Regions from separate parts of the Homo sapiens genome. Here all the other regions are linked to region 3. The links are contacts of gene promoters, found by promoter capture Hi-C in blood cells and fetal thymus (Javierre and others, 2016). All regions are on one chromosome and are shown on one strand. Each heading gives the region's core, a stretch centred on a gene start or on the middle of the fragment in contact. The rest is flanking DNA. Distances are from core to core; before and after follow the strand shown. Region 1 overlaps AHI1-DT (AHI1 divergent transcript). Region 2 overlaps AHI1-DT (AHI1 divergent transcript). Region 3 holds the start of BCLAF1 (BCL2 associated transcription factor 1). Region 4 overlaps AHI1 (Abelson helper integration site 1). Region 5 overlaps AHI1-DT (AHI1 divergent transcript). Region 6 overlaps AHI1 (Abelson helper integration site 1). Region 7 overlaps AHI1 (Abelson helper integration site 1).

Region 1 (2,922 bases), core at 42-2,541, 770 kb before region 3:
TTTATGTATCTCTCCTCTCTCTTGCTCTCTCTCTCTCTCTCTAGCTCTCGCCTCTTAATATTTTTCAACCTGTTCTGTCATGATTCCACAAATATTCAAGTCCTTCATGTTTCCAGGGTAACAGTAAGTATTCGGCAGTTTATCTGACACCTTCCATTTAAGATAGGAAAAAAATAATAGAAAGAAAATGTCATTAATGTATGCAAGGCTGACCATTATGACATTTGGCTGTCTGTTATCTTTACAAATACGTTCTCTTCTTTCCCATGTTTCTGGTTGCAACTTTCTGACCAGTGATAGGAATAGGTGGCATATATGCTACCCACTTCTCCAACTTGCTCTTGTCCGTGATTACTAATTGGTTATATAATTCATTTTCGGTAAGCCTGGATATAGGTTCAAAATTATTTTCTATACAATATTAAGGAGGCATAACAATTTATTGGAGCTGGCATGTAAATTGAAAATTGCTTGCTGTTTATGCTCCAAACTTTCTACCTCACAGATCTCATGACTCGAATATATTTTACCACTACAGTTTTCTCCCATAGTTATAATTTTGTCATTGCTTCTGCTCTAACCAAGCAGTTAGAGAAGGCAGTACAATATAGTCAAAAGAGCACTAGATTGGGTGCAAAAAAGCTTGAGTTTTTGTTCTATATTAATTACTTGTGTTATAGTGGATAAATTATTTATCCTTCTAGATCTCAGTTTTCTTGCTAAGGCAATAAGGCAATTGGACTATGGTAATTCCTAAGATACTTAACAACTCTAAAAACTTTTAATATCCAGCAGCCAACTAGATATTTCCACTTAAACGTTACATCATTACCCAAAATTCAACCCATCAAAAAATCTTAATTCAATGCCCTAAAAACATCTTTGCCCCTTAGGTTTGGTATTTCTCGTACTTTGCACTCTAAATTCAAAATCTTTTAGTCATGTTTACTTCTCATCTTTTATTTACCTTCTATAGTTTATCTATTACCAAGTACTATAAATTCTTCCTTAAAAAGGCCTTTGGCTCTATCCATTACTTTATATATCAGCTCTCACTACTCTGACTCAAGAATTTATGTTCCCAATAAACTTGACCTTTCACTTCCCTTGTTAGCCTTATTTCTAGATATTTTATCTGTTTTTGTGGCAATTGTGAATGGGATTGCCTCTCTGATTTGTCTCTAGGCTTGGCTGTTGTTGATATAAAGGAATGCAGCTAACCAGGGAGATGGAAAATCTCTACAGTGAGAGCCACAAAACACTTCTCAAAGAAATCAGAGATGACACAGACAAATGGAAAAACATTACATGCTTATGGATAGGAAGAATCAATATCATTAAAATGGCCATACTGCCCAAAGCAATTTACAGATTGAATGTTATTTCTATCAAACTACCAATGACATTTTTCACAGAACTAGAAAGAACTATTTTAAAATTCATATGGAACCAAAAAAGAGTCTGAATAGCCAAGGTAACCCTAAGCAAAAAGAACAAAGCTGGAGACATCCCAGTATTTGACTTCAAACTATACTACAGGACTACGGTAACCAAAACAGCATGGTACTTTTTTACAAAAGGAGACACATAGACCAATGGAACAGAATAGAGAGCCCAGAAATAATGCCAGACACCTACAACCACATGATCTTTGACAAAGCTGACAAAAACTAGCAATGGGGAAAAAGCTCCCTCTTCAGTAAATGGTGCTGTGATAACTGGCTAGCCATATACAGAAGATTGAAACTGGACCCCTGCTTTACACCATGTAAAAAACTCAGCCCATGATGAATCAAATACTTAAATGTAAAACTCAAAACTATAAAAACCCTGGAAGATATCCTAAGCAATACCACTCTGGTCAGAGCAACAAGCAAAAATTTCATGAAGACACCAAAAGCAATTGCAACACAAGCAAAAATTGACAAATAGGATCTAGTTAAGCTTAAGAGATTCTGCACAGCCAAAAAAAAAAAAAAAAAAAACTATCAGCAGAGTGAACAGACAACCTACAGAATGGGAGAAAATATTTGCAAACTATGCATATTACAAAGGTCTAATATCCAGCATCTATAAGGAACTTAAACAAAATTACAAGAGAAAAACAACCCTATTAAAAAGTGAGCAAAGGACATGACCAGATACTTTGAAAAAGAAGACATACTTGCGGCCAACAAGCATATGAAAAAAGCTTGATATCACCGATCATTAGAGAAGTGCAAATGAAAACCACAATATCATCTCATACCAGTCAGAATGGCTATTACTAAAAAATAAAAATAAAAAGATGCTGGCAAGGTTGTGGAGGAAAGGGAACACTTATACACTTGGTGAGCGTGTAAATTAGTTCAATGATTGTGGAAACCAGTATGGCGATTCCTCAAAATCCTAAAAGCAGAACTACCATTGTGCCCAGGGATCCCATTATTGAATATCTACCCAGAGGAATATAAATTATTCTGCCATAAAGACACATGCATGCAAATGTTTATTGCAGCACTATTCACAATAGCAAAGACATGGAATCAACCTAAATGCCCATCAGTGGTAGACTGGATAAAGAAAATATGGTGCATACATATAAACAAATATTATGCAGTCATAAAAAAGAACAAGATCATGTATTTTGTGGGAATACTGAATAATCCTTACTGTCCCATGAAGTAGGTTCTAATTATAGATAAGAAAACTGAGATACAGGGAAACTGAGCAAGTTGCCCATGATAGCTAGTAATGGATGGAGACATAATGTTTGAACTCAGGCAGTTGGATTCAGAGCCTGGATTCCTAGTCACTGCACAGTGTCAATGCCTGACAGATAGATGTTACGAACGTTAACTGTTATATTAATTGCTGTACATTTTATCAACTAGATATCCATTCCATTCTCTCCACAGCCACTCATCATGCCTTACCTGGATG
Region 2 (3,342 bases), core at 480-2,979, 640 kb before region 3:
GTACCCTGCAAAGCCACAGGGGCAGAGCTGCCCAAGACCATGGGAACCCACCTCTTGCATCAATGTGACCTAGATATGAGCCATGGAGTCAAAGGAGATCATTTTGGAGCTCTAAGATTTGACCACCCCGCTGGATTTTGGACCTGCATGGGGCCTGTAGCCCCTTTGTTTTAGCCCATTTCTCCCATTTGGAATGGCTGTATTTACCCAATGCTTATACCTCCATTGTATCTAAAAAGTAACTAACATGCTTTTGATTTTACAGGCTCATAGGCAGAAGGGACTTGCCTTGTCTCAGATGAGACATTGCACTGTGGACTTCTGAGTTAATACTGAAGTGAGTTAAGACTTTGGGGGACTGTTGGGAAGGCATTACTGGTTTTCAAATGTGAGGACATGAGATTTGGGAGGGGCCAAGGGTGGAATGATATGGTTTGGCTCTGTGTCGCCACCCAAATCTCATCTTGAATTCCCACATGTTGTGAGAGGGACCCAGTGGGAGGTAATTGAATCATGGGGGCAGGTCTTCCCCATGCTGTTCTCGTGATAGTGAATAAGTCTCACAAGATCTGATGATATTATAAGGGGAGTTTCCCTGCACAAGCTTTCTCTTTTTGCCTGCTGCCATCCATGTAAGATGTGACTTGCTCCTCCTTGCCTTCTACCATGATTGTGAGGCTTCCTCAGCCGTGTGGAACTGTAAGTCCATTAAACCTCTTTCTTCTGTAAATTGCCCAGTCTCAGGTCTGTCTTTATCAGTAGTGTTAGAGCAGTCTAATACGTGCACATAAAAACAGAGTGTCAAAATATGTAAGCAAAAACTGATACAAGTGCAAGGAGAAATAGTTAAATCCAGTATTATTATTGGAGATTTTAACACACCCCTCTATTAGAAATGGACAGGTCCAGTAGGCAAGAAGATCAGTAACAACAGAGTTGAACTCAACAACACCATCAATCAACTGGTTATAATGGATATCTATTGACTACTTCATCTAACAACAGCAGAATACACATTCTTCCAAGCTTACATGGAACATTCACCAGTATAGAACATATTCTGGGCCAAAAAACACATACCTTAACAAATTTGAAGGAATAGGAATCATACAATCAATGTCTTCTCTCAGACTGCAATAAAATTAAACTAGAAATCAAAAACAGGTAGTTGGAAAATCCCCACATACTTAGAGATTAAACAACATACTTCTAAGTAACACATAGGTCAAAGAAGAAATCTCAAGATAAAATTTTAAATACTTTGAACTAAATGAAAATGAAAACACAACTTATGAAAACTTGTGGGATGCAGCAAACATCTCACAAGTTTTTAAAATGCGTAAAGGGAAATATACACAGTAGTACTTCCTCATTTGCAGTTTTACTTTTTGTGGTTTCAGTTATCTGTGGTCAACTACAGTCTGAAAATATTAAGTGAAAAATTCCAAAAATAAACAATTCTTAAGTTTTAAATTGAATACTGTTCTGAGTAGCATGATAAAATCTCTTGCCTTCCCACTTCATCCCCTATGAGATGTAAATCCTCCTTTGTTCACCTTATATACATTCACTACCTGGCCATTAGTCATTTAGTAGCAGTCTTTTTTTTTTTTGAGACAGGGTCTCACTCTGTCACACAGGCTGGAGTGCAGTGGCACTGTCTTGGCTTACTGCAACCTCTACCTCCTGTGTTCAAGTAATTCTCCTGCCTCAGCTCTGCCCCCCTCCCCCCAGCCCCCCACCGTCCCTGAGTAGCTGGGATTACAGGCAGGCCACCATGCCTGGCTAACTTTCGTATTTTTTGGCAGAGGCGGGGTTTCACCATGTGAGCCAGGCTGGTCTCGAATTTCTGGCCTCAAGTGATCTGCCTACCTCAGCCTCCTGGAGTGTTGGGAATACAGGCGTGAGCAGTCTTGGTTATTAGATTGACTATTGTGATATGACCGTGCTTGTGTTCAAGTAACCCTTATTTTACTTAATGGCTCCAAAGCACAAAAGTAGAAATGCTGGCAATTCAGATATGAAGGAAGCCATAAAGTACTTCCTTTAAGTGAAAAGGTGAACATTCTTGACTTAATAAGAAAAGAAAAAAATTATATGCTGAACTTGCTAACATCTACGGTAAAAATGAATCTTCTATCCACGATATTGTGAAGAAGGATAAAAAAATTCATGCTAGTTTTGTTGTCACACCTCATGCTGCAAAAGTATGGCCACTGTAAGTGCCTAGTTAAGATGAAAAAAGCGTTACATTTTGTGGCTGGAAGACAGAAATAGAAACATATTCTGATTTACAGCATTTAGGCTGGGTACTATCCAAGGTTTCAGGCATCCACTGGAAGTCTTGGAACATAGCGCCTGTGGATAAGGGGAAACTACTGTAGTATTGAATGCATATATTAGGAAAGCAGAAAGATCTAAAATCAATCATGCAAGCTTTTACCATAGAAAACTAGAGAAAGGGCAAATTAATCCAAAGTAAGCACAAGAAACAATAAATATTAGAGTAGAAATTAAAGAAATTGAAATAGGAAATCAATAGGGAAAATTTTTGAAACCAAAAGCTGGGTCTTTGAAAAGATAACAAAACTGATAAGCTTCTAGCCAGGCTAGGAAAAAGAAGGGCACAAATTACTACTTTTGGAAGGAGGAGATTTCACTTCAGAGCCCATGGACATTGGAAGGATAATAAAGGAATACTATGAATAATTCTGTGCCCACAAATTTGATAACCTAGGGGAAATAGATGAATTTCTTGAAAAATAAAATCTGATAAAACTCACACAAGAAGAAATAGACAATCCAGATAGGCCTAGATCTATTAAAGGAATGGAATTAATAATTAATAACCTTCCAAAACAGAAACCATGAGACCCTGATCAGTTCACTAGTAAATTCTACCAAATACTTAAGGAACAAATTATATCAATTCTCTACAGTCTTTTCTAAAATATAGAGGCATATGGAATATTTACTAACTCATTCTATGAGGCCAGCTTCACCATAATGTCAAAATCAGACAAAAACATTATGAGAAAAGATCAATATTTCTTATGAATATAGACACAAAAGTCCTCAACAAAATATTAGCAGACTGAATCAAGCAATGTATAAAAATAATTATATTCCATGACTAAGTGGGATTTATCCCAGGTATGCAAGGTTGGCTCAAATTTGAAAATCAATTACTGCAATCCATCACATCTACAGACTAAGGAAGAAAAATGACATGGTTATATCAAGAGATGCAGAAAAAGCATTTGTCAAAATACAACACCTATTTGTAATAAAAACTCAGCTAGAATTTTAGAGGGGAACTCCCTCATCCTGATAAAGAACATC
Region 3 (3,192 bases), core at 630-3,129:
CCGAGACTGGGCCACTGCACTCCTGCCTAGGCGACAGAGCGACATTCCGTCTCAAGAATCAGTCAATCAACCAGACCTGAGCCTACCAGTGAGTAGTACTTTTTACACGTCTGTCTTCAAGTCTTATACTACCACTGTTCCTCAAAGTCAAGAAGGGCTCTGGCTAAACAGCTTCCTTTGCCACCATTTTAATTATCTGAATTAAACAAGATATTTCAGTATTCACCACAATGTACTGGTTGAAACATGAAATCACTAAGAGAAGGTGCTCCAAGGTTGTTTACCATGAGCTACCTTTTTTAAGTGACAAGGTCTCGCTCTGTTGCCCCCGCTGGAGTGCAGTGGGACGAGCACAGCTCACAGCAGCCTCAAACTCCCGCCGAGGGGCCACTTTTTCCCTCCCATCAAATTACCTATCCTGAATTGGTCATGATCAAACAAAAATACAAAAGCCTTGTAGCAGTTTTTCCTACGTAAAGGTTATTTACTGCCTGAACAGTATCCTAACCATTCCAACTAAAGTCGAACTGAAATGAGAATTCACAAGAGGAACAAGAAATTTTGTTTTGCTTTGTAACACCAAAAAATTTAAAAGAGGCTGTTGCAGTGAGGTACAAGTCTGAAGTAGCTCATCTTTTTCGTCAGTGTTAGCCACACTTGCTTTCAACTTCAGTCTTAATTTGTTTCCAGTTCTAAAATGCTTTTTAAAAAAGTCTGAGGTAGCAAAGTAGCTGCTGGTACTTCAGCTTGATTCTGAAGAAATAAATCTTAAAAGCGAATCAAGCCAACTCATGAATTTAAAATGAAGGCAAAGTCCAATTCGCCACTCCCACCCATTTCTCACACCAGCTGTCCACCAATCGTGGCTGCAACATTTCTGACACGACTAAATGGGCTGAATCACTTGAAAAGACTCGGCTTCGCTAGTACTCATGAAGAACCGCACTTTCAGCCGGATGGGGCAGGGCCACGCTCAGAACCACCAGCTAAGACCCAATCCTCTCGCTAGGGAACCGTAACTAGGCAACCAGCACCAGTCAACAGCGCGCGCTCGCTTCAAAACAGCAGGTTGCCGCGGGTACCGAAATTAACTCCAGAGAACCAGGGTCAGCAGCGAGAGGCAGAACAGAGCACTAAAACCTAGTAGCATCACAAAAACGAGGCATTAACTGACGGGTGGTCTGAAGCCGGAGGGCAGTTTTAAAGACCACGCGAAAAGGGGTAGACCTACTCAACGCACTTTGCTGCGGGTCACAGTTATTTTCTCAAAACCCCACAGGCCACGAAGAAAGGTGGCAGTCCCAGCCAATGAGAGGCGGACACAAGTTGCACCTCCAGCGGCCGTCGGCGCCATAGGCGGGGGAGAGAAAAATGAACGAGCGCGCGTGCGCGGAGCGTTCAGTCGGGCGCGCGCAGAGGTACGGGCTGAAGAAATGGGGGAAGGGTGGAAGAGGAAGATATGCGCACGCGCACGGGAGGCCGCGCGGGCTGTGGGTCTCCAGGCAGGTTCGCAAACACGCGCGCGCCCGCCGTTAGCACTGCTCAGCGCCCCCGCCCGGCCTTTTCGGCCCGTAGTGCCTCGAAAACCTGAGAGAAGCTAACGAAAAAACGCATAAATAACGGCGCAACGTCTCCTTGGTTCTCCTTTCGCCGCCAACCCGACACCACCCACAAAAGAGTCAAAAATATGGCCTGTCCTCGGTCTTCACTGCCCCTGGAGTAACTTGAATACATTGCGAGGCCTACCTGACACGCCGAATCGCGGTTCCGGGAATTTATCTCCGTTGCAACCACACAGCGGCCATTTCCCGACTCAAGAACGCGAGGAAAACCATAGAGCTACCTTCGACGCGCTAGCACGTCTCCGTCACTTCCGATCTGGGGCGTGGCCTCGGGTGCCGCTAAATATGCGGGCAAGCCCCGCCCACCCTTCCGCTCCGGTCCGGCTTCCTGGCTGCTATTAAGATGTTGCCTGCGGCCTTCTGGGAAGTCGCGTGGCTGGTCTCGCGGGAAGATGTGACGGCTCCGCCCTCTGGCCCGTAGCGTCAGCCTTGGCCGGAGAGGCGGTAGAGTAGGGTGGGTGTTTTGTCAGGCCTGAGTTAGCTTCGCCATACGGCGCTTTTCGCTGGTGTCTCTGCCTCGTTCTGAGTAGACCCCCTAGACCTCACCGCCGCCCCTGCGTTTTACCTCAGTAAGCTCGTCTGGTCTGTTCTTTCTGTGGGGCCGGCTCAGACCAGGCAAAAAACAAAAAGACAATCCCACACTGAGGAAAAGACCAGGAGGCAAGACGTGGCTGTAATTGCAGACACGCTGCTCCCTCAGCCAGCAAGCGCCACTTTTCCTCTTGGACGCCTAACTGGAGATTAGAAAATGTGGCTTTTGGTTTGCTATTAAATTCGGCAGACGCACTTAGTTGAAAAATGGCCACGATCTAAATCCCTTTCGTGGCGTCTGATCAAATCGGAGCTCAAGCCGCAGCAGCCGGAAACCTCTTAGGCTGCTCGTGCCAAAGAAGGCCGCCCTTCTGGCGGCGTGATGACAGCTTTACCACATCGGCAACGTTGGCATAGGCATGAAAAAATAAAGAGCACGAAGCAGTTGAGCTTTCAGCCTGTGACGATGATTTGTGGCAGCCGAGGAACACAGCCCAACGTAGCTTGGTTGTCCAGAATTATAAGTCAGATTATAAATAGGCAAGCCACATTCGATTTGAATAGAATTTAAATAACAGCCGTAGCACATTTTGCATTAATACTTCTCCGGGCTGCACTTTCTTAGGGCCTAAAACCGCTATTGCTTTGATGTTTAGAGATGTTAACTACCTTGATGGATTTCAGACTTGTAATTAGCAACCAGGGTGTCAGTGAGTGAATCGAAACTAGGATTGGGCCCTGGTTGTGAATTTAACACTGTGCTTAGAGCATTCTTTCTTCACAGTCCAGTTTACCAGCTGAACTAGAAAAACGACAACATTTTCATGGAGTGAATCGTAGGTTTTTTATTGTACAGTCTGTCCCTCACCCCATTACCACCTCAGGATGTGGACACAGAAATCCTTGGCCTTTTTGTTGTGCCCTGATGTCCCAAGCATTCGCAGGTTCTCAGAAATATTTGTTGAGTGAATGAACTATATTTAAAAAAAAAACAACTAAGGGCTCAATACACGTCTGCTATTCTGCATGTATTGGGAGT
Region 4 (3,207 bases), core at 1-2,500, 840 kb before region 3:
TTACAGGCTTAATATATAACCCCAGAAATCTATTAAAATTATTATTAGAGGCCTTATCTTTTTAGAAATGAAAAACATGCTATGTCACCATTTAATTTCAACACTAGATGATATACACTTAATATGTACTATTAACTTACACAGTCTGGAACTTTCAGTCCTCTTACAGTTACGTACAGTGTTGATGGGTAATGATTTCTTGGACATTTTGACCACCATTCAAATGCCTCAACAACACTTAATGGGGATCGAGGCTTAGTAGGTGGGTAATATAGCTGCAAGCGAAGTTTTGAGTTGATGTTTGCATTTCCATTGGCTCCCAGAAGCTTAAAATAAGAATTCATATAAAATGTTACCTTCATTGAAAATAAATATATCCAATAAAGCAATAGCATAAAGTCAGAAACATTTTTAAAAGATTAATATGGCATGCTGAAATTTCTTAGTTTTAAAAAGCAAAGAACATTAAATAGTTAGTTAAGCACACTTCCAGATCATTTTTGACAAAAGGTAGCCCAAATGGCTTTTAAAATATTTTCCTGATAGCTCTCTTTTCACGTGTACAACAATTTCAGACTGTCGGTACAGCATTTACATTACTGTGCCAGATTTCACGCTGAACAAAGGAAGTGATCAATACACATGTTTGAAATAATTATGATAAAGACTAAACTGTATATTTACACAAGACACAAATCTTCCATTTGTTTAATATCAGTATTTTTAATGGTTAAAATTTTATGTTTTAAATTTTTAAAAAGTTAAAATCATTTCAAGATAATTAAACTCATTCAAGCCATTCGTTACATTTTTTTCAGTATTTTAGTATATCTTCTTTCAAAGGTCTATTTTTAAAACCCTATTAAACAAAACTTATATTTAAGCTAACTAAATGGAGGTTTTTGTCTCTTTTTTTGGGCAGAATCTCGCTCTGTTATCCAGGCCGGAGTGCAGTGGCAAAATCTTGGCTCACTGCAATTTCCACCTCCTCTGGGTTCAAGTGATTCTTGTGCCTCAGCCTCCCGAGTAGCTAGGATTACAGGTGCATGCCACCACACCTGGTTGATTTTTGTGTTTTTAGTATAGTCAGAGGTTTTGCCATGTTGGTCAGGCTGGTCTTGAACTCCTGGCCTCAGGTGATCTGCCCACCTCGGCCTCCCAAAGTGTTGGGATTACAGTTGTGAGCCACCACGCCTGGCCCTAAATGGAGATTTTTATGAGAAACATAAAAATCTTACCAACTCAGAATACGTTCTCTTTCATTAGACCATGACTCAAAATAGGAAATGAAACGTCTTTCTAACCTTTATGTCTTCTGCAAATTAGGAGCAGAAAGATAGTTTGAACCCTTTGCAACAGTTCACACAAAACATGAAGTATCTTAAATTAGAAGAATAAGCACTGAGTGCCCGGAAGGTATTTAACAACTGTTACTTGTAGACTCATGTAACTTAATATCTTAAATTAGAAGAATAGGCACTGAGTGCAGGGAACACATTTAACAACTGTTACTTGTAGACTTATGTAACTTGGAAAGTAAAAAAAAACAAAGAGGCAAGAAAGGCTCTAAGATAGTATTGTCCAAGAGAGCTTTCTATAATGATGGGAATACTCTAACCAATTTGTGCTAACCAATACGGAATCCACATGTGGCTACCCTGCACTTGAAGTATGGCTAGCACAAATGTGAAAGTAAATTTTTAATTATATTTAATTTGAATTCAAACAGCCATGTGACTTGTAGCTACCAAAACAGTGTAACTCTAAGTTCGTAAATCTGGGAGAGTGGACAGATGGTGGTACCACCAATTGAAGTGGCAGAGAGAGTAGCACGGATACTCAGTTTGGAGGAATCTGACATATCTATAAGTCATCCAAGCTGAAATGTCCAGCAGGTGACTGAATTTACAAATCTGAAGCACAGGTGAGAAAAGTGGTTCCAAGAAAAGTGGGTTAAAGATGAAACCATGAGTAAGACTGATATTAAGGAGGTAGGTAGAAGACCATGAAGGAAACTCAAAGAATGGTATAAGAAAAATTAGGAGAGGATGGTGTCAAGAAAACCAAGGTAACAGAGTTTCAAGAGTGTGATATGTTAAATGCATAGATGTGACAAAATAACTAAAAAATGTTCAATATATTTAGCAAACAGAAATCACTAGTGATTTGGTTGGAGAAGCTTTAGTGGCAGAGGCAAAATTCAGAACGTTGTTCAGGAATGATAAGTTAAGGAATGATGCATCAACAAGGAAAAAGAGATGGCAAAATATAGCCCATCTTTTCCCCTACCCCTTTAGGAAAGAATGTAAAGACAATGGAGGTTATAAGCTGAGCGGGTGACATTGTGATTAGTGTCAAATGACACACAGGGGTAAAGAACCATTCCCAATTGAGTAATAGATATGTTCAGTCATTAAATCATAAGCACTCGAGACTCCCTTGATAAACTCTCCTACAGCTCCCCAAAGCTTATCACGGTAATTTTAAAAAGATATTCCCCAGCTTCTAAATCATACTTTCCATAGATTAATTTAAACAGGCAATTTAGTTTACATTAATACGTTGCTTAGCCTGAGTAAACAACTAAGATTCAGCCAAGACCCTGCCATTATGGTTATAAATTATATAATGTAGAGCTCAGATAAATAAGGCTTTATTACTTTTTAGTTTAAAAGAATAGCCACATATATGTACTAAAAGAACTGAAAGTACCTGAGAATCTGAGGCATAGCTGAGAATTAGGATAAAGTCTCATTTGAATTACTGTAATAACTTAACAATTATCCAAGACATCCCTCGTACCAACAGGATAGGTAATAAAAGATTTAAATTTTAATTGTCTTCATGCCACTTCCCTTTTTTTTTGAGATGGAGTCTCACTCTGTCACCCAGGCTGGAGTGCAGTGGTACAATCACAGGTCACTACAACTTCCATTCCCTGTGTCCAAGCAATCCTCCCCGCTCAGCCTCCCGAGTAGCTGGGATTACAGGTGCACACCACCACATCTGGCAAATTTTTGTATTTTTAGTAGAGACAGGGTTTCACCATATTGGCCAGGTTGGTCTCAAACTCCTGACCTCAAGTGATCGGCCCACCTCACCTCCCAGCGTGCTGGGATTACAGGAGTCAGCTACTGCATCCGTCATGCCACTTTCTTGAAGATGAATTTTATCCTTGCCACTCTTTCTATCATCAATGATTAATTC
Region 5 (3,135 bases), core at 196-2,695, 740 kb before region 3:
AAACCATAATGTTTCTTGGTGTCAGTAACACTGGGAGTGGGCACTGACCACGTGGTCCACATGCAGAATATGCACAGCTATCCTCGCTGGTGACCTTCTTGCTTTGTGGATGTCAAAGAAAGTAGACAGCTATATGGACTCTGCCACCTGGATAACTCTAGAGGTGAGTGGTAGGGGTTATGAACAGCACTGAGGAGCTGGGAGTGGCTGTTTGTTGGGTTTCTAGCTTCAGGACAAGTTCTATGAGTTTCCTGAGCCCTCATGATCTAAAACTATGAAGCATGATGGTGCTGGGGTGAATACTCATTGTGTTGCTTGCTCGGTACTCACTATCCTAACTTTGTTCTGAAGGACCCATTTCTCCCTCACTCTGTGTGTTTCAAGTAAAATATGTACTGAAGAAAATGCCACCTATTTTTATAAATACTGTGAACTAAGAATGATTTTTATATTTTTAAGTGGCTTCAACAAAAATCAAAATAATAATATCTAAATTTCAGTGCCCATAAAGTTTTATTGTAACTTAGCCATGCTAATCCATTTATGCATGGCTGCTTTTGCTCTACAATGGTGGAGGTCAGTAGTTGTGACAGAGACCATGTGGCCTGCAAAGCCATAAATATTTACTATCTGGTCCTCTATGGCAAAAGTTTGCCAGCCTCCACCTCAGACTGTCGCTGTGGTTAGAGTCCTATGATCACAGTGGGTGGTTCAGCACAAGACCCAGGTTTAAACGTCTGGTCTTTTCTTTGAACTACTTGGGAAGCTAGCTCTAGCTAGCTAGCTAGCTAGCTAGCTCTTCTGCTGCCTCAGGTGAGAAACTGAGGATGTCAGGAAGCATCAGGCAGCCCCTAAGGATGAGGTCGTAATCAAGCTTGATTGAAACCATTCCAACTCTAGAATTTTCAGCTGTGCCAATCAATACATTTTCTTTAATCTTAAATTAGCTAGCATTTTAAGATCTTTGTTGCTTACAGCCAAAGAAACTTAACTGATAAAGTCATTTGGAAGAAATCCTACTCCAGGTATACAGGGAACAGAATTAATGAGTTCCCAAGATGATTGCCTTATGGTGGCAACAGCAGTTGCCTGGCAGAAGATAGGAAATCTGTCTTAATAGTGCCTTCTAGGACCCAAATTTGTCCTGCTCTGGTAGAAATCCTAGAAGATCAGGAATACAGGAGATGCAATTAGTGTTTAGGATCTTCATTTAACAGCACACATCTGTGTCTTCCCTTGGCATAAATACTGGGAGAATGCAGTACTCAGGATTTTTATATCCTCTTATTGGAATTACCCACATAATATATGATTTATTGCCTATAGACTTCTCAATTTCTATGTACACAATAGCAGCACTACCATATTTTTTAATTCAAATGAAATGCATGAAGATGTTTGGGTAGAAGTAATAGAAAAGTTTAGTAATGAATAATGTTTCATTATTCTGTCTATTTTCTGAACATCAGTCATTATCAAATATAGACTCATAATCAAATAATAATACATACACCTACAATATTTTGATTATGATGTTTTTAGAAACATACATCTCTTTTCCCTCCTACTGATTAATCTCCTTGCTGTTTAAGCAGCAAAGCTGCTTTCCACTCAGTATCTCAGGGAAAGGATATGACATGGTAGACAACAGAAAACAAATGAAACAACTCCCCCACACTCCCCAAATTCAGGAAACTTCCTGGCAAAAAGCTCACTCCTTTAGGACAATAGAGAGTCTCTGGGTAGAGCCAAATTATATAAGAGAAACATCAAGGGTGACTGTTGCTTTCGCCTTCTGGAGAGGAAAAGATTCCCAGGGGTTTATATAGAAAAGGAAGGGGAAAAGAGGGAACAGGGAGGATGTGGTGGCAGTGCGTTTGGATGGGTTTCAAAGAGGGAGCCCCAGTTCCATCAAGGACCTTGGAGCCCCTGGAGGCTTCTCCCTCGGGTTCTGTGGGGCCAAGGAGAGGCGTCCCCTCAATCCCACCTGGATTCCCTGCTGGATCAGCCCTAGAAGGAAGCTTCCTGGGGCTGCTCCCACTTCTGCTTAAGTGTGGCTACACCGTGGAGGGTGGGTCCTTAGGAATGTGGCAAGGGCAGCAAGATTGAGGGGGCCATAGTGGTGCGGGCATGTGGAGGGGGCACAGGCTTTGGCCCGCGGGCCTGTGTTCCTATCCCTCCCTCTGTCGTTCCCTGTGACCAATGGGCGGAGGGCCCATTCTTGGCAGAAACCCAGGGAAGTGGCAAAATTCCCAGACAGTGTTGTGAGAGCAGTAGAATGTTCACAACCTCCTACCCTTGCCCTAGCATCAGGGTTTGACAGAAAAATTAGATTGAATGAAATAAAAATATTTCTCACCCACTTGCGTTCATGGATGGAGATTGATGACCTTCTAGGTCAGACACATTTGTTTCCATTAGTGTGGAAAATCAAGAGTTGACTTCACTCCTCAGTTCTTCCAAGGGTGACAGTTAAATTTTGGCTGCACACCAGCAGCCAATGGCATGCAAGTGTTAGAGCAGGTTATCTGCATTTCATGTGCTGGATTTTGCTTCACTGCAATGCACTATTGTTCATTTTGAAGAACTGCTTTTTCTTCATTTGATTATGAAGTCCATTCTTCACTGAGAAAGGGTGAATCACTGGGTTTCATTATGGAGCTCTTGAAGTTCAGGGAGAGCGATTTTCATACTAAGTTCATTTTCTTTAACATATAACCAGTGAAATAATAGAACAAAAATACATTTATCTTTTATAATTGTTTCCCTCCTCTAAGACATAACAGTATTAACATAACAGCTATACTGCATAATTCTTCTTCAACCAAAGAACAAGAAGATTAATCTATTCTATTTATTTATAAAATCTCCTGATATTTCTGATACTGGTTTTTCCCGTCATTCACCTGGTGGAAAAAGCAAGGTGGGGAAATAAACGATGGTGACAGCTTTTTGCTGGCAATGCAGAATGAGGCCCTTGATGTTATTGTGGCCCAAGGGAAAGTGTGAGTACTATATTCATCAGCAGTTCTCAATCGGGCTATTTTGCACATTAGGGGCTATTTGGCAATTTTGGGAGATATTTTTGATTGTCAAAACTGGTGAGGTGGGTAAGGTGGAAGGTATGCTACTGGC
Region 6 (3,219 bases), core at 529-3,028, 800 kb before region 3:
TTCAAAGTTCATCCAATGGTATTTTTGGATCATAAATTTCCCATCAAAAAAATTTTTAACTGATACATAATAGTTGTACATATTTTGGGGGTACATGTGATATTCTGACACCATATACAGTGTATAATAATCAAATCAGAGCATCTGAGATACCCATTACTCCAAGCATTTATCTTTTATGTTGGGAACATAAATCTTCTCTTCTGGCTATTTTGAAATATACAATAAATTATTAACTGTAATTTCCCTACTGTAATACTGACTACTAGAACTTATTCCTTCTAACTATATTTTTGTACTCCTTAACCAACTTCTCTTCATCCCTTCCTCTAAGATCTTAAGATGTTCTATTCTTAAATTCTTAACTTTGATTCATATCTAGAAATGGTACTACATCTTTAATAAATCTTAAATCTTTTTTTTTTTCCAGGGAGGGAACACTGATATTTCTCTAATAATGCACATATGTTTACAACTACCATCACAAATGACTGACAACTTAGGTGACCAGATTCCTCAGGCTACAATTTTTCTCTTAGTGCTCTAAATATTTCTCCATTGTCTTTTGGATTTAGTGTTTTTACAGAGAAGTCTCAAATGTACTATATGTTTTTGTGTTTAGGTGTCTGCAATATTTGACTCTTAAGATACAAACAAAAGAATTTTCTAGATATAGTTCTCATCTCATAAATTTTGCCTGGAATGCAGGATGACTCATCTCTTCAGAAATCTCAGCAAGGTTTCTTCATCATGCTCATTATTGTTTCTGCTCCACTAGTACTGTCCCGGGATACTTATTTGTGGGTCAAATATCTTTCTATGTCCTCATCATTTATTTCTTTCATTTTAGTTTTGGTCATTTCTTCCCACCTCGAATTTGTCTCCCACTTCACTGATTAGATTTTTCCGTAGTGTCAATTCCATCATTTTAGGCCTGAGATATAGTTTTAAGGAAGCAACTGAAGAACATGAACTTTAAAATTGCAGAGACTGTGGTCTTAAATCCCACTTATCCTATTTTAGACTAAATGACCTAAGGAAATCACCTAACATGTCTGTTTGTCTGTTTATAAAATTTCTCATGTGCAAAAAAAGAATCCCAATATCTATCTTGCATGATTAACATGAGATTTAGAAATAATATTTGTAAAACTCTTATTATTGTGCCTTATATATAACTGGAATATAAGATGAACCTGCCATTATTATGAATCCCTATTTTGACTTTTTTCCTCGCTTAATTTTATTTCAGACTGCTCCATTTCTCATCTCAGCCTGTTCTGTACATAGGACTCCCTGTTCTTCTTTCAAGAAGAAGTCCTATCTTTTCAAATTTCATTAAAATAGATAATATTGGGTTGTGGTTAAGGCAGTGGATTCTGCACTTCCACTCAGTGTTTGAATCCTGGTTCTACCATTTACTATGTAACTTTCAGCAAGTTACTTAACTTCTGATGTAGTTTTCTCCTGTACAGAAATAAAACCCTGTAATTTCGTCGTTTGTATTAAACGACTAAATATATATAAAGTGTTTAGAAGAGTGCCTAAAGATAGAAAGCATTAAGGCATCTAGCAAATGAAAGCAGCTATTCCTCTTTTACTTCCTCAAGTTAATCATGTCAAAAATATTTTGTTCTCCTCTAAGTCCTTTAGAAATATTCCTGTTCTTTTGAGCTGCGAAATATCTTCCCAAATATTTGTTCCTAGTGTACTTATTTCTGAAAGAAAAGAAGCCTATTCAGTCCTGGTGTTTGCAAAGAGAGGCTGGATAAATTATGCTTAGTCACCTCACACTTATGTGCCCCTCAACATTTAAACTGGACCTTAGGTAAATGGACATAGCCTCTGCCTATTCTGATTATCCATTTAATTTAAACCTTGGTCTAAATTGCATTTTGTTCATGGCTCACAACTCCCAGTTCTTTAATACTAAGAGACAATATGAGGTTCTTCTCTGAGCATAAAACATCTCTGCAGACAACTGTTTCCAGGGTTCTTTTTGCTTTTGCCCAACATAAACCACTCCATCTGAGGGGAGCGCATATATCAATAAGCAATGTTTCATCCTCCATGTCACTATTCCCTACCATATTGTGCACTAGTACCACCAGAAAAAGCACATGCTATTTCAGAGCAGCAATCACTATGGGAGTGCTAATCTGTCCATTCTGTCAGTAGTTCGAAATTTTTGTGCAGTCGTACACCAGTGTATACACTATGAACCCTCACATATGTGCAGCTGGATTTTGGTCAATTTTACTACTTGTTTTTGCCTCACTTCAGAATTTATATTGTTACATTGACATCTGCCAGACAGAATACTAAAATGAACAGGTCTTAAGAAAAAATGGGGTAAATCTTACTACAAGCAAAATGTAGGATTATAACTCATTATAAAACTCCTGCCAAAAAAAAAAAAAAAACTATGTACCATTTACACAAGAGCCTGTTTATTTTTTTCTGTGAGGACAGAAGAGATAATGGTCAAAGTAGTAAAAAGTGCAACTCAAGTAGGGAGATAGGTATAAAGAGGGCATAGAGCATTAACTGTGGATGCCAATACAGACTCTTTATGATTCCAAGGGGATCAGGTTGTAGTTAGTTGCTGATTTGCTTAGTCTTTGAGCACTGTATTTTTAATTCCTTCAAGTGTGCTGCCAAAGATTCTATCATTTGAAAGTGTGCCTCAAACATAAAAGGATAATTATTACCATACGGCCATTGATTTCTCCTGGTTCTGTTGGGTAGAATCACACAGAAATAGTTTAAATAAGCACAAGCTATTCAATATCTGAAGTTAAGATACTACTTCCTAAGTTCTTCACAATTCTGGGTTAAAAATATTTTCTTCAAAAATGTTATCATGGCTAGTTTTGAGTTTCCCCACTATCTCTGGTCATTTTCCCCACTGTGTGTGTGTTCTTCCTGTAGGACAGCACTCAAGAATGAAGTCAATATTCTCACAGTGATGTTGATTCTAATATAAACTTTATTTTTACCACATGTTATTGACCATGACATAGTGTTACTGTTTTTAATTTTCAAAATTCCTTAGAATTTTAACATAAAATGCAGCCATATCTGCATTTTATGCGCATATGTAAATCACTATTACCCAATGATCATTTACTTACTGAGATGTTTTCTTCAGACCTGACAAGTTTTTTCTTCAGTTTTTTCTTTTCACGCATTAGATCACTGTGGGTCTTAAGCAATTCT
Region 7 (3,112 bases), core at 1-2,500, 860 kb before region 3:
AGTGGTGCACTGAATGTTCCAAATCATTAATCTTGACATAGGTATTCCAAACAACAATCACCCCTGTACAATCTCCTGAATACATATGATGACCTATTTAAAAAAATAAGATCACTCACTTATGAATGTCACACAGAGTTAGAAACAAATAATAGGAAATCGGGGGAAACTATACCCCAGTAAAACAGTCAAAGAATTGAAGGGCTATTAAAAGGTATTTCAGTTTAAAAAAGCCAAAAATCAAAATGTAACTCACAAACAAACCCCAATTATCTTTAAATGAATTCTTTACTCTTTTAAATTATTTTTGATGACTTCTTTCCCTTTTTCACTTACCTGAATTTAACTATAAAAAGAAATGAGCCTCTCAGTACATGTGTATATGGCTTATATTCCAAAGCCAAATAATTTGAACCATCCGACATGTAACATTATTTCTCATCTTTATTAACCCATAAATCTGTTTTGGATTCCTAGAAAAATACCTATATTCTAATATGCACCAGTTTAACATCAATTCTTTGGAGTCAAATAATCTTAAAATTGAAAGACCTCAGAGACCATTAAGTTCAACTTCATACCCACTCAGGAATATCTCAAACACCACCACTAACAGATGGCTGTTCAGCAACTGTGAATTCAGTATTTTATAAAACAGCTATTCAACTGGTGAACTGCTTCCTGTATTAAAATATTCTTTCTAATTCTGAACAAAGAAAATCTATCTTCTACAGCTTTGGCCCACCTCTACCCACTGGAGTAACATGGACCAATTTCCTTTTTTTTTTTTTTTTGCACATTTGGATATCGTATGGCCAAATAGTTGAAGAAAGTCTTTATGTCTCTTTTATAATCTCAACTACTGCTATTATGACAGAGTTAGTTTTCAGATACCTTTCTATTCAGAGTCTTTCCTGAATATGTTCCAAATTTATTAACATCCCTACAGCTGAACTGAGTAAATCAGCAGTATTATCCTTTTGATCTGGATCCCATACCAATTAATTATAGCGCTAGCCTACATGCCCAGTCTCTGAAATTATGTAAAAAGTGACTATTTAATAGATACAATAAATTTCTTCATTCTTTCAGATAATAAAATGATTTACGTTTTACATCTTTAAAACATACTACATTATTCTTTTTTTTGAGATGGAGTCTCACTCTGTCGCCCAGGCTGGAGTGCAGTGGCGCGATCTCAGCTTACTGCAACCTCTACCTCCAGGGTTCAAGCGATTCTCCTGTCCCAGCCTCCCAAGTAGCTGGGACTACAGGTGCATGCCACCACACCCGGCTAATTTTTTGTATTTTTAGTAGAGATGGTGTTTCACCGTGTTAGCCAGGATGGTCTTGATCTCCTGACCTTGTGATCAACCCACCTCAGCCTCCCAAAGTGCTGGGATTACAGGCACGAACCACCGCGCCCGGCCACCATATTATTCTTATATCAAGATAAAACTTTAAATAATTGCAAATTTCCCTTCTATATGTTTGCAAATTTTAAGGTTCTTGAAGAAAAAGTAAGAATGATAATCACCAGTTCAAAGAAATATATTTATGCAATTTGGCACATGACTGGTTGTTATAGCAAAGATTAATTGAATCTAAATGTTTAAGAATTTAAAAACTTAAAAATTACAAACAGAAGTCCCTTAGTGTCATATCTATCATATGACCTGCAAAATAAGCATAAACCTAAATATGCGCAATCATCAGTACATAACCCTCTCAAGCCTAAATAACTATTATTCTGGTAAAAAAAAATTCTTCACATAGCTGGTCTTCATTCATAGTCTCTGACATACCTTCAGTATCAAAACAAAGTGAGTTGATAAAACTTTTGTGAACATCAAACTGTCGGACCAATATGGCAGAATCTTCTCTCATCTCAACTTTCCATATCCGTATCATGGAATCATAGCATCCTGTAACTACTAGCTCTCTTACAGCTGGATGGAATTTAGCCGTGTAAACAAAAGAAGGATGAGGTAAAACTCTGAAAGTATTTGTATTGTTTATTTCATTTTTCCATATCCTGGAAAAGGATAAGAAGTTACATATTGCTTCTGAAAAGCAGAAGTTTCTTTTAACAGTTTTTCTAAGAACCAACACAGCCAATGAACCTTAAGCAAGCAAGTGACAACGACCAATGGTAAACCAAGTTTTAAAACAATGAAAAATATAATGATGATCTCATATTTGATGACTGGAATTTTCACATGTGACAAAGTTATTTGTTATAGTTATTATCCAGCATATTATATCCACTAATTGTAATCTATACTATAAAATTAATAACTTTTTAAAACCTACCTATTTTGCTGTTGGTTAAACACACATTGAACAGTTGGTAAAATATTGCATTTAGTACAATATACATAAAAAATATATAGGGAGAAACTTTAATGATTTCCCATTTAGGTTGTGTATACCACTTTTACAAAGTGTTTATTAATGGGGGTTTAGAGAATAGAATAGTCTATTAACTTTTATATTTGTAATTTCAAAGCCTAGATAGTAAAAATGAAGATCTCAAAGATTTAAGAGATACTAAAATTATTATATTTTGAATTCTCAAGTAAAATAAGATTAAAATAATTATGACATTTTGATAGAAAAGACTATCCTACATTAAGCACGTTCTTTTTGTTTAACACTCATTATCCTGTCCTCTAAATAATGGCTAACTAAAAAAAATTAAGATTATTATCACTGCTACAGTCTTGACAAATGAGTAAACCCTTAAGGGTTAACCTCTTAGATACTCTGCATTTCTAACAATGTATAAAACTAGGTGAAATCTACCAATATACAGGTGCTATATAAGTGTGAAGCATTGGATTTTTAAATATATTTTGTTAAATTATCAAAATTAGAAGAACATATTAATTTTAAATATGGGATTTGTATTCATCCTTTTAATTACTGCTTGAAAACTAAAGCAAATTGAGTCTGTTACAAGATTACTGATAAGAGAAAAAAAAACAGTTTCTATTCAAGAAAAATATTCTATGAGTTTCCTCAGCAGCTGCTTACAATATAGGATATGATCTTCAATTACTAAGAATCCAAACTAATAATAGAGGAAGTGAAAGAACATGTTTTCGAGTAA

What was found. The method cuts DNA at HindIII sites, captures the fragments that hold promoters and counts their contacts. A CHiCAGO score of 5 or more calls a contact.
Region 1: a fragment that was not itself captured here is called in contact with the fragment with the promoter of BCLAF1 in region 3 in 12 of 17 cell types (endothelial precursors, fetal thymus, M2 macrophages and 9 more); the score reaches 9.2 in endothelial precursors.
Region 2: a fragment that was not itself captured here is called in contact with the fragment with the promoter of BCLAF1 in region 3 in 1 of 17 cell types (naive B cells); the score reaches 5.8 in naive B cells.
Region 4: a contact is called between a fragment that was not itself captured here and the fragment with the promoter of BCLAF1 in region 3, in 11 of 17 cell types (naive B cells, fetal thymus, monocytes and 8 more). The highest score is 10.0, in naive B cells.
Region 5: a fragment that was not itself captured here is called in contact with the fragment with the promoter of BCLAF1 in region 3 in 1 of 17 cell types (fetal thymus); the score reaches 5.4 in fetal thymus.
Region 6: a contact is called between a fragment that was not itself captured here and the fragment with the promoter of BCLAF1 in region 3, in 10 of 17 cell types (non-activated CD4 T cells, total CD4 T cells, fetal thymus and 7 more). The highest score is 8.6, in non-activated CD4 T cells.
Region 7: a fragment that was not itself captured here is called in contact with the fragment with the promoter of BCLAF1 in region 3 in 1 of 17 cell types (fetal thymus); the score reaches 5.7 in fetal thymus.

What each region holds. Positions count from the first base shown.
Region 1 is chr6:135,515,696-135,518,617 of GRCh38, forward strand. All of the region lies in intron 2 of AHI1-DT (AHI1 divergent transcript), which reads left to right. Among named protein-coding and RNA genes, the nearest start is that of AHI1-DT, 19 kb to the left of the region's middle. The HindIII fragment of the contact is 1,302 bases long and covers 641-1,942 here.
Region 2 is chr6:135,650,773-135,654,114 of GRCh38, forward strand. The region is part of intron 3 of AHI1-DT (AHI1 divergent transcript); the gene reads left to right. Among named protein-coding and RNA genes, the nearest start is that of LINC02524, 18 kb to the left of the region's middle. The HindIII fragment of the contact is 1,410 bases long and covers 1,025-2,434 here.
Region 3 is chr6:136,287,967-136,291,158 of GRCh38, forward strand. It overlaps BCLAF1 (BCL2 associated transcription factor 1), which reads right to left and starts at 1,880. Exons shown (of 13, transcript NM_014739.3): 1 at 1,747-1,880. It overlaps LOC124901408 (a long non-coding RNA gene), which reads left to right and starts at 2,048. Exons shown (of 4, transcript XR_007059784.1): 1 at 2,048-2,191. RefSeq lists enhancers at 674-1,270, 796-915, 1,271-1,867, 1,286-1,405, 1,352-2,551 and 2 more. The HindIII fragment of the contact is 10,003 bases long and covers 1-3,192 here.
Region 4 is chr6:135,448,150-135,451,356 of GRCh38, forward strand. It overlaps AHI1 (Abelson helper integration site 1), which reads right to left. Exons shown (of 29, transcript NM_001134831.2): 12 at 141-326. Among named protein-coding and RNA genes, the nearest start is that of AHI1, 48 kb to the right of the region's middle. The HindIII fragment of the contact is 1,853 bases long and covers 325-2,177 here.
Region 5 is chr6:135,544,711-135,547,845 of GRCh38, forward strand. The region is part of intron 2 of AHI1-DT (AHI1 divergent transcript); the gene reads left to right. Among named protein-coding and RNA genes, the nearest start is that of AHI1-DT, 48 kb to the left of the region's middle. The HindIII fragment of the contact is 1,147 bases long and covers 873-2,019 here.
Region 6 is chr6:135,487,489-135,490,707 of GRCh38, forward strand. AHI1 (Abelson helper integration site 1) reads right to left here. Exons shown (of 29, transcript NM_001134831.2): 5 at 3,135-3,219. Among named protein-coding and RNA genes, the nearest start is that of AHI1, 8.6 kb to the right of the region's middle. The HindIII fragment of the contact is 4,311 bases long and covers 1-3,219 here.
Region 7 is chr6:135,431,222-135,434,333 of GRCh38, forward strand. It overlaps AHI1 (Abelson helper integration site 1), which reads right to left. Exons shown (of 29, transcript NM_001134831.2): 16 at 1,806-2,035; 17 at 1-93. Among named protein-coding and RNA genes, the nearest start is that of AHI1, 65 kb to the right of the region's middle. The HindIII fragment of the contact is 4,268 bases long and covers 1-3,112 here.